Linked DNA regions of Homo sapiens: region 2 is linked to region 1. The links are contacts of gene promoters, found by promoter capture Hi-C in human tissues and cell types (Jung and others, 2019). All regions are on one chromosome and are shown on one strand. Each heading gives the region's core, a stretch centred on a gene start or on the middle of the fragment in contact. The rest is flanking DNA. Distances are from core to core; before and after follow the strand shown.

What was found. The method cuts DNA at HindIII sites, captures the fragments that hold promoters and counts their contacts. A contact is called where the count stands out against the background at its distance.
Region 2: a contact is called between a fragment that was not itself captured here and the fragment with the promoter of SRBD1 in region 1, in 2 of the 25 tissues and cell types used here (bladder and liver).

Annotation. Positions count from the first base shown.
Region 1 is chr2:45,608,558-45,613,417 of GRCh38, forward strand. It overlaps SRBD1 (S1 RNA binding domain 1), which reads right to left and starts at 2,710. Exons shown (of 21, transcript NM_018079.5): 1 at 2,662-2,710. RefSeq lists an enhancer at 2,361-2,530. The HindIII fragment of the contact is 13,717 bases long and covers 1-4,860 here.
Region 2 is chr2:45,756,408-45,761,624 of GRCh38, forward strand. All of the region lies in intron 1 of PRKCE (protein kinase C epsilon), which reads left to right. Among named protein-coding and RNA genes, the nearest start is that of PRKCE-AS1, 83 kb to the left of the region's middle. The HindIII fragment of the contact is 6,911 bases long and covers 1-5,217 here.

The sequences.
Region 1 (4,860 bases), core at 1,460-3,959:
CCATCTCCACGGTTTTACATACCGATGTCACCTACTTATTAACAATCCTAATCCCTCCATCCCAAACCGTGCCTTTAACATTCAGATTTCTATAATAAACTGCCTGTCTCTGAAACTATTTAGATGTCTCACAGTTAACTTAACACATCCACAATGGAACTCTTGATGACCATTTCTTGCTCTAAAACCTGTTCCTATTCCAGTCCTTCCCATCTCAATAAGTGGCACCCACCTATTTGCTAAGCCAGAACCTTGAAAAAAAAAATTTTTTTTTTTTTTTGAGACGGTCTCACTCTGTCACCCAGCCTGGAGTGATCTCAGCTCACTGCAAACTCTGCCTCCCAGGTTCAAGCAATTCTCCTGCCTTAGCCTCCTAAGTAACTGGGATTACAGGCGTGTACCACCACACCCAGCTAATTTTTCTATTTTTGATAGAGACGGGGTTCGTCACGTTGGCCAGGCTGGTCTCGAACTCCTGGCCTCAGGTGATCTGCCTGCCTCGGCCTCCCAAAGTGCTGGGATTACAAGTGTGAGCCATGGCGCCTGGCCAGAAAATTCTTTAACAGCTTCATTGACATATAATTGACATGCAATACACTGCACATGTTTAAAGTGTGCAAATTTGATGTTTTGACATATGTATACATATCACTACAATCAAGAAAATGAACACATTATCATCCTCCAAAGTTCCATTTGCTAAGTCAAAATGTTACAAATCTTTTTTTCTTTCATCTCACATATCCAGACTATTAGTAAGTCACATAAGATCCTCCTCCAAAATGTCTTGAATCTCCACGATCTTCAGTGAGCCTTTAGTCCTCAACCTCCCTCACTTGAACTACCACACTCGCCTCTTAACTGCCCTCCCTACTTCCACTCTTGCCCCTGCAACTCATTCTCCACTTATCAACTCAAGATCATTTAGAATATGCTTTAGAAACAACGAATTACTTCCCACCCCATCCTTCACTTAGAATCAAGCCACATTTTTATGAGGCCTTTGAAAAGGCCCTGTCGGACTGAGCCCTGCTCACCTTTCTAACCACCTTTACTACTTGCTGGAGCTCCTCAGCTCTTGTCATAACATTCTTTCCCACCTCAGGTACTCTCTGCCTGGAGTATTCTTCCCCCTGCTTGTCAATTGGCTGGCTCCTTGCATCCCTTAGATCTTAACATTTCAGGCCTAAAATAGGTTTCTCAATTATATTTTAAAAGGAGCCTATTTACTTCCTGTATACAGTAGGTTATAACACAATCTGTAATTATTTTTATTTTACTTGTTTATTGCTTGCACTGCTGTCAAGAGAGTAAATACCATGAAAGAAGGAAATGCATGTGCCTTATTCACTTCCATATCATAGAACCTAGCACTTAACAGATGCCCTACAACTATTAAATGAACATAATATGTACAAATATGGTCTCTACAGAGGAATATACATTTATTTTCCACCACTCTTAGGCAATGCCACACATTGCATTCATCTCTTTCTGAAGAAGTGATGGCACATAAGAATATTCCTATTCTTCAGTGACTTGGGATTTTTCCCTCCTTTCAAACTATCTTAATCACTGTAGGCACATGAGCATATTCCAAACCAATAATTTGGAGGTTGCTATGATGTTACTAAGGGAAGAGCCACTAAACTAGGACGACTGCAAATCAGGACAAAGGGGCAAAAGGACGTGCACACTAACAAATACTAAATTAAAATTGGAAAAAAAAATTTAAATTCAAGAAGGCAAACAAAGGAGGACAATTTCTTAAGAAGCACCTAAACAAGTTTCCATGAAGGACCAACAGAGTGCTTGAATGTTAGCAGATTCCCAAGTCACAAAAACAAAATACTAGAGCTGAAAGAACCTGAGATCAGACAGTCCCGCTATATTCAGAAATCTGAGACCCAATGAGGTGAAACAGTTTACTCAAAGGGGAAAGATATGTGGCAAAGGACTATAGCCCAGTGCCTGGAACACCAAGACTAGTCTCGTTTCCCATTCCACACACAATATGTTAATGACATGTCACGTGAGGGGTTCGAGGAAAGTTGCCTAGAGAGTTCCCAATTCATTCCTTTCCTCCGGTTACTGAGCGCCTCCTACATGCCAGGCGCACTACAGAAGGTGCAGTTGATTCAGACAGGGCCACCATGACCGTGAAAAGGGTGCTTCCTCTCCCACCTCCGATAATTTTAGGTATAAAAACAATCCAGGTAAATTAGCCGGGTGTGATGACGGGCGCCTGTAGCCCCAGCTACTCGGGAGGCTGAGGCAGGCGAATGGCGTGAATCCGGGAGGCGGAGCTTGCAGTGAGCCGAGATCGCTCCACTACACTCCAGCCTGGGCGACAGAGGGAGACTCCGTCTCAAAAAAAAAAAAAACAGGCTTGCCCAGGCTTTTCTATGTCTGTTATGCGCTAAGAGCTGCAGCAATTTGGCTGAAAAGAGGTGTCACGAGGTAGCTAGGAGGGGTTTTCGGGTGGTCGGTTGTGAGAGACCGCTGACAGTAAAATGTAATGAACTTCTCACTTTTAAAAAAGGGGTGTTATTGCCCAAATGAGCGCTCAGAACTTTTTTAATGGCCCCAAAGATCCCGGAGCCCGGACGCCGGGCTCTTGAGAACCCGCAAGACGACCGCCAAGGCGCACGCACAGCTCACCTTCCCGCCCGGCACGTCAGAAGACCCGAGATTCCGTGAGTGCCACCGCACCTTCCGGTTCCCGCCGGAAGTTTTTCAAACGCCAGAAGGTCCGCCTCGCTTCTTCCGGACCAAGTTAGCCACAGACCTCCAAGGCGCGGCGCTACCGAACGGGGCGGAGCCAGGCTGGACGGAGGCGGGGCTAGAGCGAGGATCCCGAGGGAGCGCCGGGGTGGGGCTGGTTCGTAGAAATGAAAAATGACTTTTTTTTTACGTGTTATTTACCAAGAACACTAAACTCTTAAGCCCACAGATACAGCCAAATAAATTAGATTATAAAAGTAGGGAAATAAGGCTGCTGTTGTCTACATTCGAATTTAGCAGATCAAAACCCCATGGATTTGTTTTAGAAAATTCTAAAAAGCAGCTTTCCACTGCTAATGACTTATTTCCAGGGACTCTGAGTACTGAAGAGCCTAGCAAGTTATTGAAATGACCTGTGACCGTGCCTTGTTGCAGATCTACCGGAAGTGAGCATAGATTTTACTGGATAATTTTTGTGATTGGGGGAAAAAAAAAAGGATTCTTTCTAAATTTAGTAAATCTAATCTTCTATATCTGAGATTGTTGGCCAGGAAAGATCAGTTTCCGAGATTGTTTAGGGATTTTTTTTTCCTTTTAATTAGCACAGTCGTATGTTGCCTTTAGTGATGGTTCCAGAAGGCCTAGAATTGTCTACTACAATCACAGTCTCCTTCACAATTTATGGTCCTGAAGAAATACTAGAGAACACCTTACCGTTCAGGATTGTGGGAAGAGAAACCAGATCATAGAAATCAACAACAATAATGTACTACTTACTATTCACCTACTTTTGATGTTGCATTTGCTACTCAGGTTTATGGTAAGGGGTTGTCTTGGTCAATTTTCTGCTGCTGTAACCAAATACCATAGACTGGTAGATTTATAAAGAAAGAGATTTGTTTGGCTTGTAGTTCTGAAGGCTGGGAAGTCCAAGACAGAGGGCATTATTGTTGTGTCAAAATATGATGGAGGGCATCATACTGGGGTAGGGGTGGGGGAGGCATGTGAACCCAATTGACTCCCGAAATAACTAACCCTCCTGTGATAATGGAATTAACTCATTCATGACCTAATCATTTCCTAAAGGTCCCACCTCTTCATACTATTACAATGACAAGTTTCAACTTGAATTTTTGAAGGGGACATTCCAATCATTGCAGAGGTAGTAAGGGTAAAGGTGAACTAATATACTGCAAAGTCTTTTGACATAAGTCCTGCCCTGGAGGAATTTACGACCAAGAGTAGGAACCAGATACAGCCAGAGGAAACAGACACCCAAGCAAAACAGTCTAGCTTCAAGGGTTGGGTATGCAGGTAGTAGCCACACTACAGTGAGGAGGAGAGTAAGAGTGGGCCAGCAAAGCATTGAAGCTTGACTTTCCTCTCCCCACAAGGGATTTTTGCCTTACAGCTGGGGAAGAAAAAAAAAATCACAAAAATAAATAGCCTGTTAAGATTTTAGACATCAGACATCTGGGGAAAATAAAATCTGAAGCAGGTTCTCTAAAATTAAAGTATGTAGGTAGTGGCCTACTCTAAAGGCCAATAAGGACTGTCCAGAGAATATTTCCCTTGGAATTCTATAAGAGAGTCACTCCCACTACACGCTGTCAAGGAAAATTTGTAATCACTTAAGTATAAAACAGGCCCTCCCACAAAAACTGCCTTTTCTGTCTAGGACATTGCCCAATCTATTGTTTACTTTTGGATCTCAAGTGCTGAATTCCAAGAAATTCATGGGTTTAGACTGAAAGCCTGGAATAATCCGGACACCCACCTGAGACTATGCAATAGGGTTTGGGAGTAATGAAAACATGTTTTGGATTTGATGGAGGTTGTTTTATCCCTCCAAAGTATATAGCTCTTCCCATGATATTCACTGATACATTATCATTTGTATGTTATTATCTGTTTTCAAGTCCTTCCCCTATGGGTTCTAGCTCCCCAGGGCAAATGTAATAATAATAGTAATAACTTACCTTTATTGATTACTTACCTGTGCCAGGCACTAAGTTAATGCTTTTAGATGTATTTATGTATATAATTCACATATTACCCCAATGCAATATTGCTATTAAACCATTTTTATAAATGAGAATACCAGGTATAAAGAAGTTAAATAATTCATCTAAGGTC
Region 2 (5,217 bases), core at 999-3,498, 150 kb after region 1:
TAGTCTCTCTGGAAAACATTTTGCAAGTTTCTTAAAAAGTTAAACGTAAACCTACCATGTGATCCAGCCATTTCACTCTAGGCCTTAATTCAAGATAAATGAAAGCATTTGTCCATTCAAAATCTGTCATGAATGTTCATAGCAGCTTCACTTGTAATAGTCTTAAACTGGAAACAACCCAATCTTTCATCAAGATAGAATGGATAAACAAATTGTGGTATATCTATACAATGGATACTATTTAGTAATAAAAAGGAATGGATGGATTAATCTCAAAATAATTATGCTGAGTGAAAAAAACAGACAATTTGGAATGCACATTATATGATTCCATTCATATAACATTTTGGAAAATGCAAGCTAATCTATAAGATAGGAAGTAAAACAGTGGTTGCCTCAGGATGGAGGTTGTGTGGGAGGGGCAGGAGCAAGAGATTATAAACTCTATGAGGAAACTTTGTGGGCTGAAGGATATGTTCATAATCTTGATTATGTGATGGTTTCACAGGGGTATATGTGTGTCAAAACTTATCAAGGTTTACTCTTATTTAAAGAGTGTTCAGCTGGGCGTGGTGGCTCATGCCTCTAATCCCAGCACTTTGGGAGGCCGAGGCGGGTGGATCACTTGAGGTCAGGAGTTTGAGATCAGTCTGGCCAACATGGTGAAACCCCATCTCTACTCCAAATACAAAAATTAGCCAGGCTAATTTAGAGACAGGTGAGACACCTGTATCACGCTAATTTAGAGACACCTATAGAGACAGGTGGTGCATGCCTGTAATCCCAGCGACTTGGGAGGCTGAGGCAGGAGAATCACTTGAACCCAGGAGGCGGAGTTGCAGTGTGTTGAGATTGCACCACTGCACTCCAGCTTGGGCAACAGAGTGAGACTGTCTCCAAAAAAAAAAAAAAAAAAAAAAAAAAAGAGTGTTCAATTGATTGTGGGTAAACTGTCCATTAATAAAGCTATTATAAAGAGCTGGGCATCATAGTTCATGCCTGTAATCCCAATACTTTTGGAGGCCAAGGCAGGAGAATTGCGTGTGGACAGGAGTTTAAAACCAGTCTGGGCAACATAGTGAGACTGTGTCTCTACAAAAAATAATAAAATTAGCTGGATGTGGTGGCATGCAGCTGTAGTGCCAGTAACTTGGAAGGCTGAGGCAGGAGGATCATTTGAGCCCAGGAGTTAGAGGTTACAGTGGCCATGATCACAACACTGCACTCCAGCCTGGGTGACAGAGCAAAATCCTGTCTCTATTAAAAAATAATAAATAATAAATAAAAGTGATAATTTAGAGATTCAATGCAAGTCAGTTAAACAAGCCATTATTGCCAACTCCTTACATTCCCATCCCCCACATGGAATTCATTCATTTCATTGGAAATGAGAGGAGAAAAAATAGCCTCAGCGTGCTTAGGATGGCAGGGGAGGACCACTGTCAAAACTGAATGTACATAAGGCAGGTCTTGACGGAGGTTGATGCTGGCAAAAACAAAAGGAACTGCCTTTGAGGACTAGTCAAGGGAAGCTCTGGGGCAGATGTAGGATCCAAGTGACTTCAATGACTGGGGACAATGTTAAAGGCAGTGAGGTACAAAATAAGCAAGGCCTAAAAGACGGAATCAACAGGCTTTGTTGAAGAACCAGGGGAGACCAGTACAGAGAAGGCTGAGGGTGCAAGGGGCTACTTTCAAGAATGAAAGCTAGATGGGCTGAGACAGATTGCCTCTCTATGCATCCTGGCTGCACCACTTAAAAACTGGGCAACCTTTGGGTAAATGACCTAAGTTCCCTGTGCCTTGGTTTTTCCATCTGTGAAATGGGAATAGTAATACATACCTCATGATGTTACACTGAACATTAAATGAATTACTGCATGAAAAGTATTTAGAACCATGCCTGGCATAAACTAAGTGCTTAATAAATGTTATTGCTACTGTAATTATTATCTACTCTTGGGGAGAATCTTGAATGCTAGGATTATTACAAAACAAGCAATAGGTACAGCAGTGAGAACCCCTAAACAAAAGTTTGAGAAACTGCTTCTAGCTTGTCCCTACCTCAGAGTCTTTGCACTTGCTGAGACAACTCTGCCTGGAACACTTTTCCTTGAGATGAACTCCTGCCTCACTCCCTCACATATTTTGATCTGTGCCCAAATGTTACCCCATCAGAGAGGCCTTCGCCAGCCACTATATTGAAAATTGCAGGCCCTTCCTCCCCTACTGCCTAACATAGGTATGTATCTTTATTTGCTTATTTTTCCTTCCTCCCACTAGAATGGAAGTTCTGTAAGCTCTTTAAGAATATGGACTTTGTTTTCTCTACAGTTATGTCCCCTGAGCCTAGGACACTGCCTGGAATGTAGTGGATGCTCAATAAATTTTTGTTGACTAGAAGATTTATTAGGCTGTGTCTTAGGGGTGAATCACCTAGCGTCTTCAGGCCTCAGCCTCCTCACCTGTAAAGTGCAGAGGGTGCATTGCAGCCTGAAGGTGATGTGAATTTGTGGGGAGTCCGGCGTGTTGTCTTGAACAAGGGAGTGATATGGTGAAGGGACCGTGGGAGAGTATCAGCACTCATGAGATAGCAGGAGAGCTTCCGGGTCATGCCTCCCACAGGGTGATTGAATTTACAAAGTGAATTTAGTTATTTATAGGTGATTTTGAAGATGACTTTCCAAACTCTCCCCTCTCCCCAATGGGGCACTGTGCTGTCCCCTGCCCCTGCCCTCCATTGAGAACCCCTTCTCTAGACACATACAGGGACAGAATATGCCAGAACAAGGCAGTATTGATAAAATGACAAATAAGTGACAAATAAGTGGTATGTGGGCTCATGGTTTTAGTATGTCTTGAGCTGCTCTGTTTTGAAGGACAGCTGACTCCAGGTTCTGGGCATAAGGAGCACATTAGGCTGACGGGGCCTGGAGGCTGGAGAGGAGCTGACACACGTGTGAGAGGAGGAGCCAGCCAGATGGCTCCGATTTATCCATGTCGGTGCAGGGCTGGAGAACGAGCTCGGCCCAGCTGGGACGCTACTGCTGTGAGGCTTCCCGTGCATCTCAGACCTTGAGAGACCAAGCCTCTCTTTTCACACCTGAGCTCCTGCAGGAAGCAAGGGCTGCGGTGGCTGGGAGATGCCTGTTGTTCCTCACATTCAGCAATTAGCGCCATCTCCTTAAGGGCAGACCTCCACGTAGCTGTAATCTGAAATGTCAGTTATTACACTCTTTGATGTAAGTATAGAAGTGCCTCGGTTATGATCTCAGGAGTAAGACAGAAATAGCTAGTCAGTGTGGTGAGTAATCTGCTAAAAGCATTCACAGGGATCATCCTCGCCATGGCATTATGTGCTGTTTAAAATCTGAGTAAATGCTTAGGAGTCCGGCATTCAGAGATGCAGGGAGGGGCGGTGGAATCTCTTGGAGGAATCCTGGCTTAAGTCTCCTCACTGCTTCTGTTGCAGGTGATGGATCATGCCTATGCTATTCTTTGAGTTTCTAATGTGTAGTTAGATTTTATGGGGGATACTGAAGGGCATGGGAGCAGCCCTTGAGTCTTAGCTTAGGTCCCAGTTAGGAGGGACAATACCTATGCACGCAAAAGCAGATGCATTTGAAAGTGCTGCAGGAAAGGGCTGTAACAGCTGCTGGAATTACAGGAGGGAGCAATCTCTGTGGAGTGAGGTGATCAGGGAAGGTTACTTGGAGGAGGCAGGCTGTGAAAAGGAGAAGAGATTAGGGGTAGAATGTATTGCTTTTACTTGGTTCCTGACCTGCCTCTGTCTTCTCAGGATGGAGGCATCTTCCTGCAAACCACCTTATCCAATAAAATTAACACACAAATAGAAAATCAAGGCCACAGAAAGAAAGAAAGTGGCTAGTATGGTTGCTCCAGTTGAGCACTGGATTTGGTTTTGCACTTCTTGGCAGCCAGGACATAATGAAAACCAGGTGAATCGCACAGCTTTATTGATCAGAAAGGGGAAAGTCTACCAACTCTTCAGGGGAGGCAAAATTCTTCCTGGCACATTTTTCTAAAATCATTTTCTCATGTGGGAGTTTACATAAAAGACACAGTGGCATAATAAACATAGGTCCATCGACAACAAAAGCCTTCATAAGCGTGGAGGATTGAACACCAAGGCGTGACACGATGAAGGTAATTTGGCCAGTGGCTAAGCTGGCAAGGTCCAGTGATGTGGCTTTTAGGGGCTCTGGCTTGATGTAAAATTAACTTAGAATCATTTTCTTGAAGACGAGACTGAAGACAAATTCCCAAAGGAGGCTTTGTAGTGGACATTCAGAGGGGAAAGCTCGTTGGCCTTGGTGAGATTATACCCGGTGAAAGGATGTGGGTGCCCTCCTGCCCCTGGGTTCCCACTTTCCATCATATAATTACCCTGTCTGGGTATCGGATTTGGTGCTGAGTGTCCTGGTGTCCAGAGGCATAAAGGGAAACGCACGTCTGATTCCAGAGTCCAGAGCTGACCTTGTCTCTTTACCAAAACCCTTAGTATACTATTCCCTGGTTTATCTTAACTGGGGCATTAGAGCACCTGCTCTTGACTTTGACATGTTCTCAAGGAGTTTGAAGTCTAGACAGGGTGATTTTACTTAAAAAAAAATTTAAGGCCGGGCATGGTGGCTCACGCCTGTAATCCCAGCACTTTGGGAGGCCAAGGTGGGCGGATCACGAGGTCAGGAGATTGAGACCATCTTGGCTAACACGGTGAAACCTCGTCTCTACTAAAAATACAAAAAATTAGCCGAGTGTGGTGGTGGGCGCCTGTGGTCTCAGCTACTCGGGAGGCTGAGGCAGGAGAATGGCGTGAACCCGGGAGGCAGAGCTTGCAGTAAGCCGAGATCACACCACTGCACTCCAGCCTGGGCGACAGAGCGAGACTCCATCTCAAAAAAAAAAAAAAAAAAAAAAAATCTAAGTACAGAAAGGAATACATGCCAGTAGGTTGGCTTTGCCTCAATTCCTCCTATCAATAGCTGCCATGTGTTAAGTATTTGCTGTGTCCCAAGCGCTTTACCTACAACACTTATGTCATCTTCACAATGACGTCCAGAAGTATACACTTTTATTGTCTCCATTTTATCAGAAAGAACGGGGCTTGTGGAGATTCTGATATTCTCTCAAGCCCCCAGCCTGAGGAAGATTCCAATTGGCCTCACTTTTGGGTCTAGTGGATCTGGACTTGGG